Linked DNA regions of Homo sapiens: region 2 is linked to region 1. The links are contacts of gene promoters, found by promoter capture Hi-C in blood cells and fetal thymus (Javierre and others, 2016). All regions are on one chromosome and are shown on one strand. The core of a region is centred on a gene start or on the middle of the fragment in contact, and the rest is flanking DNA. Distances in the headings are between cores, read along the strand shown. Region 1 holds the start of UCK1 (uridine-cytidine kinase 1). Region 2 overlaps RAPGEF1 (Rap guanine nucleotide exchange factor 1).

Region 1 (3,587 bases), core at 1,011-3,510:
GCTCCAGGTCCCTCCCTCGGCGCACGTCCCGGAGAACTGCAGCGGCAAGGGGCAGGCGTGCTTCAGACCTCAGGACCTGCCGCCAGCCTCGGCCAGGCAGGCACGGAGGCCCGCGGCCGCCTTACCTCTTCGAGACAGCCTGACGTCGGAGTCGGTGTCCACGAAGAGGCGCAGGTGGAACATGTCCCGGATCTCCTGGCTGTAGAACACCAAGATGCCCTCAAACAGAACCACGTCCGCAGGGTAGACCACCGTGGTCTCTGGTAACCTGAGGGGCGCACGGGGAAAGGGGCTCTGCTGCAGACACAGGGTCTCCAGGCCACACACACAGTCAGCTTCCATTGCAGGGACACTGACTGTGGGAAGGGGTGGGGGACCCACAGAAACCAACCGGGGGAGGCCTGCCGCCAGGCAGGTCTGTGTGAGCCCGAGGGGACGTCCTAGCTGGCCCCTCTCCTCGGCCCTCCCTAGAACCACCTGCTTACCTTGAGTGTGTCACAAAATCATAGGTCGGCACCTCCACCGTTTTGCCCTCCACGATGTTCTTCAGAGTCCTGTGCATCAAATCATTATCAAAGGCATCTGCAGGGTTGGAGACAAAGGCAAGACAGGCAGATGCCCTCGTGCAGCGGACAGCAGGGAACCCTCTCTGCTCTGGGGTCAGCACAGCTGGGTGCTGGGGACACCGAGAACCCTAGCACAGGTAGACTAGGACTACGGCAGTGTATGTTTGGTAGCAACAGTGCCCTCTGCAGCCCTGCAGACCACAGGATGACCCTGTCCTTGCTGTTCTCGGGCTGTGCCACTGCCCAAGCTCTGTGCCCCTGAGATGCCGGAACACAGGGGTTTTCTGATCAGCTCTTCCTGGGAGGTGGGTAGGCTGGGCCTCTGCTTCTCTCTCTTTCTGGGACTAACTGGTTAGACTGCGGCTTTGCAGGCCTTCTTCCCACAAGTCCTTGGGAAAAGGCTGACCATGCCAGCCAGCCAGGGTGGAATCTTCTAGCAGTGGCAGGTGTCTCCCTGCCGCATCTGCCCGTTTACCTGGCCCGGAGCTTCAAGCCACCAGCACTAGTTTACCTACCGCCTCCCACACTGGCCTCTCTGAGGACTTTGCCCCAAAGCACGGGAGGGCACAGTGGGCAGAGGTGTGTGTGGAGGGCCCTAAAGGCCCCAACGTGGGAAGGGAAGATGGGAGGATTTCTCCAGGATCACAGTTGTGGCAGGGCAGGGCAGGGCTCCCCACAGTGCAACAGGCTTCCTGACTGGCTCCAACCACGCTCCTGGGGGGACACTCAGGGCCCAGAGAACTCAGCAAAGTTCCCCTGACTTCACTGTGCAGCCAACTCCACTGCAGGCTGCGTGGCGAGTTGGGGGAACAGCCCAAGCGGGTCTGCATCCATCCAACCTTGGGCCCAAGCGCAGCTGGTTAGCGGCCGCCCAGAATGGGGTCTGCCCTCCCCACATCGTTGGGCTCGCGATTTACCTGGATGGTCAAAATTGTACTGTCCTTTCAAGGCCTTGGCCTTCTGCTCTGCCGTCAGGACCTTGTAGAACCTGTCCTGGCTCAGGATGACCACCTTCCGCTGCCGCTGTTCCACCTCGTTCTGTCCCAGCAACTCCATGATCTTCTCACACACGGTCGACTGGAGACACAGAAGCGGGATTCCCGCCTGGAACCGCTCGTCCTGTGACAGGCACGGGGCCGGCTTCTGGAGACACTGACCCACCCGCCCCCTGGGGGGTATGCTCGGAAGGCGGGAGGACACCAACAGGTGTGGATGGTCTCAGCGGAAGGGCCGCGGGGGCCCAACGGGGTTAGCACGGACTTGGGGCTCCGAGGAGCCCGGCCGGCGGAGAGGCTGTGGGGGAGCCCCGAGGCCCAGCGCCCCAACCCCTCGCCCGCCCCAGCCCGCCCCGGCCCATCGCGGCCTGCAGCCCCTTCGCTCCCGCGCCCTGCCCCTGCCTGGCAGGGGGCCCCTCGGCCGGGGCTGGGGTCTCCTCTCTGGACCGGGCCGCCCGTAGGCACCGGCGAGAGGCGAGACCCCGGCCCGCTCGGCCCCTTACCTTCCCGCTGGCAGTGCCGCCGCTCACCCCTATCAGGAAGGGCCGCTGGTGCGGACGGTCGGCCTCCGGCGCGGGGCTCTCGCAGTCTTCGCCTCCCGCCGAAGCCATCTCGGCCTCCGCTCCCGCGCATCGGGTCCCCGCGCCCGCCCCTTCCCCAGGCCCGGCGCGCCCGCCCAGCGCCGAGGTCGGAGGCAACCGGAGCGATCACTTCCGGGAGGCGCGCGGGGCACGCCGGGAGTTGTAGTCCACCGGGGGGGGGGGGGCCGCGCATGCGTGAGGGTGCAGGGCCCGAGGCCGGCACACCAGGAGCGCCCGCGTCCCATTGCGCCGAAAGCTGGCTGGCAGGGACTGCTGCGCCCGGGCCTCGAGCCGGCTACAAGGTCTCAGACTCAAGTGGCCCGGAAGGTGCCCGTTCCGCACCCCGAGGCTGGGGCTGCGCCTTCGTCCGAGTGCTTGCCTCTGCCTCGCGCTGCCTCTGCGCCAGTCCCGGGCCCTCCCCCGGCCGCCCCCGGGCCTGGCCCCCTCCAGCCCAGGCTCCTCTTGGCCATCGAGGCCTCCGGACTGTCCGGACGCCTCCCACCCCACCCGCTGCTGGAGCCGTCGGGGCGCCCCGGAACGTGGCGGGGGCTGTCGCCTGATGACTTTAGGCTCGCGCCTACAGCGCGCCAAGGAGGCAGAGGCCCATGTGCCGGGTTCCATCCCTGCCGCCCCCCCGCTCCGTGCCTGGCACAGAGAACGTGACAGGCAAATTCTGATCCATTGAAATTATGGATTTCCAGCCGGGCGCGGTGGCTCACGCCTGTAATCCCAACACTTTTGGAGGCTGAGGCGGGTAGATCACGAGGTCAGGAGATCGAGACCATCCTGGCGAACACGGTGAAACCCCGCCTCTACTAAAAATGCAACAAATCAGCTGGGCGTGGTGGCGGGCGCCTGTAATCCCAGCTACTTGGGAGGCTGAGGCAGGAGAATCGCTTGAACCCGGGAGGTGGAGGTTGCAGTGAGCCGAGATGGTGCCACTGCACTCCAGCCTGGGCCACAGAGCAAGACTCCGTCTCAAAAATAAAAAAGAGAGAGAGATAGCTAAGGCTCGGGGCAGAGCATGCTTTTCATATACAAAACAGACAACCCCGGGCGGACGCGGTGGCTCACACCTGTAATCCCAGCACTTTGGGAGGCCGAGGCGGGTGGATCACGAGGTCAGGAGATCGAGACCATCCTGGCTAACATGGTGAAACCCCGTCTCTACTAAAAATACAAAAAATTAGCCGGGCATGGTGGCGGGCGCCTGTGGTCCCAGCTACTCGGGAGGCTGAGGCAGGAGAATGGTGTGAACCCGGGAGGTGGAGCTTGCAGTGAGCCAAGATCACGCTACTGCACTCCGGCCTGGGGGAAAGAGTGAGACTCTGTCTCAAAAAAAAAAAAAAAAAAAAAAAAGACCCCAAGTCTACAGCCCCAGCTACCTCCTTATCTAATTCTCGCCTTTGGAGGCAAGATTCTCCCTGCCCTAAGTCACCCAGGGC
Region 2 (4,068 bases), core at 155-2,654, 200 kb after region 1:
ATGCAACCACAAGTGTAAAATATACAGAAGCGAGCCTGGTACAGCACGTGGTAAGTGCCTAATGAACATCAGCTACTACTATTATTTGTATTTATTATTGAAAGGAGGGGTTGAGAGTAGCCAATTCCATGACTCATGAACAATCATCCATCTATTTATTCAGAACCATCACTTGAAGGAGGATGGGCGCATGTGATAACCAGCAAATAAATACAACCACTGTTTCCAACCAGGGGTTTTGTTTGTTTGCTCGTTTGGGGTCAGCTAAGTGGCTATTTAACACGGTCACATTCCACTGGATGTCAGCTGTCCTCTCTTCTCATTCCATGTCCTTCCTTCTCTCAGTTACTGTCAGTGTCACACTCCTGCTCCGTTTTTAACAATACAGTGTGTGGCTGGGAATCGCATCTGTCAGGTCCACATCAGTGGCACAAATTTTAAAAGCTATAGAGCAAATGCCTGAAATCCGCCCCTCTGAACCCAGCCCTGGGCAAACCACACAGCATCCTGTGCTCAGTGCTCCATTTCTACGCTTTAAAAGCACTGCAGAATCGCCTGATCACAAAACTTAATATGCAGTAAAGTCACTGTGTGGTTTGGGCAAGCCAGTGAAAAGCAAAGAGAAAGCTGCTGCTAAGGGACTGTGGGGACAGAAGTCTAAGCTGTTACAGGAGTCGTGGTGTTCCGGGAAGCAGCAGTCCAGACTGCAGGGTGGGACTTGGGTTCAGAGAATTGTCACCTGTCTTTCAAACTACAGCCTGGGAGAAGAAAGTGGGAGAAAGGAATTGTGACCAGCAGACAGCAGATTTCTAATAAATTCAGATGAACCTCCCCCCCTGTACCTTAGCTCACAGAGGAGGGGGAAGTAGCAAGAAAATACTGCCCATGCCTCTTGACAAAGAAGGAAGGGGGTGCCAGAGGCACACCAACAGCCTGCACCCCAGCCCTAGACAGCACACGCTGCACAGTCATCCTGGGAAAAGAGAGTAATGCTGCAGGAAGCCAGTCCTAAATCACATTCAAAGGCCAACTGAAAAAAAAAAAAATAACAAGTAGGGACAGGGATTCCTGGGATGGTGCTCATTATGGGTGTCAGGCTGAGTAGAGCTGGCACAGGCCTTGGTTTGTAAACACAGGGCAGAACGAGCATTACCTAAGAGCGCTTTGCTCCTGCACATCCCAAAGAACCAGGCAGTCACTACAAGTGGAAGCTCAAAGAACATGCACTCAAGTGGAAGCTCAAAGAACGTGCACTCAAGTGGAAGCTCAAAGAACGTGCACTGACCAATGGATGCGGCATCAGAACCGAGTGGCGGCTCAGCCTTCACGGTGTCCTGGCGTTCTCCCAGTGGTGTTCTGGGAATTTGATCCTAACCTCATCATTAGTGTTCAGAGGACTACAGGAAAACACAGAACCCCCAACTAACTGCACACCACTGATCAGATATTGGTCCTACTAATGTACCAAGAAACATCCTAATTGGCAATTTGAAACCACAATAAGCTACGTCTAAAGATAATTTGAGACTTGGAACCAGAAACTAAAATTCATTCTATGATAATATTAACTAAATTCACTCATTCTTTTAGTAAGTATTTACTGAGCACCTATTGCGTTCAAGGCACCGTAATGGCACCGCAGTGGTAGACACACTCCCTCACGGAGCTAATCATCTGTTTAACATTTCACTTGTTGATTTTTTAACTTGCAGAAAGGAAACTGGGGCTTTGATTTTGAATGAGTGAAACATCATTCTACTCAAGCATTGATCTGGGGCATTTCCATGGAATTTACTATATGTTAGAGGAAGAGAAGGCACAAAGAGCCCAGAGGAAGTTGATTTTGGTAGAGGCAGCTGTGAGAGCATCGAGGAAGTGGGTTTTCACATTGTGTTTGGGGTGGAGGGTCCAAGGAGGAGCCTCGGCCACAGCTAAGCAGGAAGGACTGCATTCAAAGAGGCTTCCCCATTAGTGGTTACCTAATGGCCTTCTTATGTATAAAAAAGGGCCTGCAGTCACGCATGCGGGGCTTCAAACCTAGATGACGGGTTGATAGGTGCAGCAAACCGCCACGGCACATGTATACCTATGTAACAAACCTGAACGTTCAGCACATGTATTCCAGAACTTAAAATTTAAAAAAGCCGGGGCGGGGGCGGGGGGGGGGGTGGTGCGGGGTTGGCGGGGGCAGTGGCTACAGCTTAAAAACACAAACAGAGGAGCGCTCCTTTTGAGTCCCACTCCTTCCTGGCACTGATGGGGAAAATAAGCCCCAGGAAAGGGTAAGAATCACCCAAGGACACAACTAAGATGTTCTCAAACAGATGACCAGAAACTAAGATGACTGGCCTGCTGGATGACAGATCCCTTAATAATTCACAAACGGTGGGTTTTATTTATTTACTCATAAAACAGCCTTTGGGGCAAGACGGGTGACGAGTCAGAGGAACACCTGTCCCGGCGGCGAGGCGGCCGCGGGGTGGGGCAGGCGGTGGGTTGTCAGGCCTCTCCTCTTTCCAGAGCGTGATCTTATCCTGGCCATGGGGAACACGCTCAGCTGGCCTGAGGTAAGACCCAGCCTGGCACTCAAGGCAATCTCCAATCCGGGCTACTTTGGGAGACATTTTTCTGCAAGCTCACACATGACTCATCTCTACAGACCTCCTATAAGGTCTCTTGGCTACAAGGAATCCCATTCAAACCGCCTCTGCCAACAGCTGCTCTGGAGACCAGGAAACATTTGGGGTTGCTGTGGTTGATTTTTCTAAAAACACACTTAGCTGGCATTAGTGCTATTTCTTATCTCTCTACAGCACTGTTAATGTGACTAGTATTACGAGTATCAGACGCAGTCTAAAGACTGTAGTGAGCCTCCCTTAATTTCATTGGTAGATCTTTTTTTTCAAAGATCAGAAAAGAGATTGAGAAGCCTGAAGAATTAAGATGGAAAGCTGTGTCCCCAGCAACCAGGGAGGCTCTAACCAGTGCTCTATAAAGGCAAGAAAGGGGGCCGGTTCCCCATTCCACTTCTCCAGGGCATGACCTTGGGCAAACAACCAAATTTCCCTGGGCCTTAGCTGCCCTGAGGGGCAAAAGAGGGATACTCCGCCCTGCCCTCACCCCCTGGGCTGTTGTGAGGATGAAATGAAATGAGGTAGTCTATAAATGCATTCTGAAAACCACAGGAAATTGCAGAGATGTTCAAGATCGTTCTGATTCTACCCCTGGACTGTGGCCTCCAGGGACAGGTTCCTGCTGGCTCCCTGCCACGAGGCATCACTTGGTGTTTGCCAACAAGGAGGCACTCAGTAAGTGTTAAAACGGGTGAGTGAAAGGAGGCAGAGCAGGTGCCATCAAAATGTCTCATTGCTTGACTGAGTATACTTTGACGACAAAAATTCCTAACTATGGAGGAAAAAGGAAGTACAAATTTGACGAGTTTAAAATTGATCGAAATACAATGACTGCCAATCTAAGAGGACCTCTTTCTCAGGCCACAAAAATGAGTAGCCCTACATCATAGGGCCTGTACTCTTAGTATCTGTTCTGAGAAAATATATCATGACAAAAATGTGACCATGAAATGCAGTCATTATAAATTTCTTTTCGATTTACAATAAAAGCATCTTCACACATTTGAAACCGTAGCACACTGAGCGTGAGACACCTATTTATTCCATCTTCAGGCAGCGTGCTGGGCAAGCCTGTGGCCACTTTAGCAGGCCCAGTGAACTGCTCCAAGGTGACAGGAGCTACAGCGCTGGCAGGAGGGTCTGGTAAATGATGAAACTCCCAGCCAGCCTGTGGTTCGCTGGGAGCACAGAGAGGAAGGAAAGGGACTTTAAAAACATACATACAAAACTGCTTAACTTATGGCCAGCCCAGTTAGAAGGTATGGCCCAGGAGGCCGGGATCTTTGCTGTGTCCCAAGAACAAGAACAACTCCAGGCCCTCAGGAGGTTGCTCCGTGAGGCAGGCGATGAGTGAAGCCACTGAAGGAGGGAAGAAAGGAATGAGTGACTGAAACTGACACATGCAGTCCAAGGACCTTCTTCCCTTCAGCTGAGG

Evidence for each region. The method cuts DNA at HindIII sites, captures the fragments that hold promoters and counts their contacts. A CHiCAGO score of 5 or more calls a contact.
Region 2: a fragment that was not itself captured here is called in contact with the fragment with the promoter of UCK1 in region 1 in 1 of 17 cell types (neutrophils); the score reaches 5.8 in neutrophils.

What each region holds. Positions count from the first base shown.
Region 1 is chr9:131,529,003-131,532,589 of GRCh38, forward strand. UCK1 (uridine-cytidine kinase 1) reads right to left here and starts at 2,261. Exons shown (of 7, transcript NM_031432.5): 1 at 2,065-2,261; 2 at 1,484-1,643; 3 at 486-582; 4 at 126-268; 5 at 1-36. The coding sequence starts at 2,172. RefSeq lists enhancers at 1-712, 1,418-2,331 and silencers at 1,747-1,796, 1,997-2,356, 2,497-2,666. The HindIII fragment of the contact is 8,496 bases long and covers 1-3,587 here.
Region 2 is chr9:131,731,209-131,735,276 of GRCh38, forward strand. The region is part of intron 1 of RAPGEF1 (Rap guanine nucleotide exchange factor 1); the gene reads right to left. Among named protein-coding and RNA genes, the nearest start is that of RAPGEF1, 6.8 kb to the right of the region's middle. RefSeq lists silencers at 1,948-1,997, 2,374-2,668 and an enhancer at 3,888-4,017. The HindIII fragment of the contact is 9,723 bases long and covers 1-4,068 here.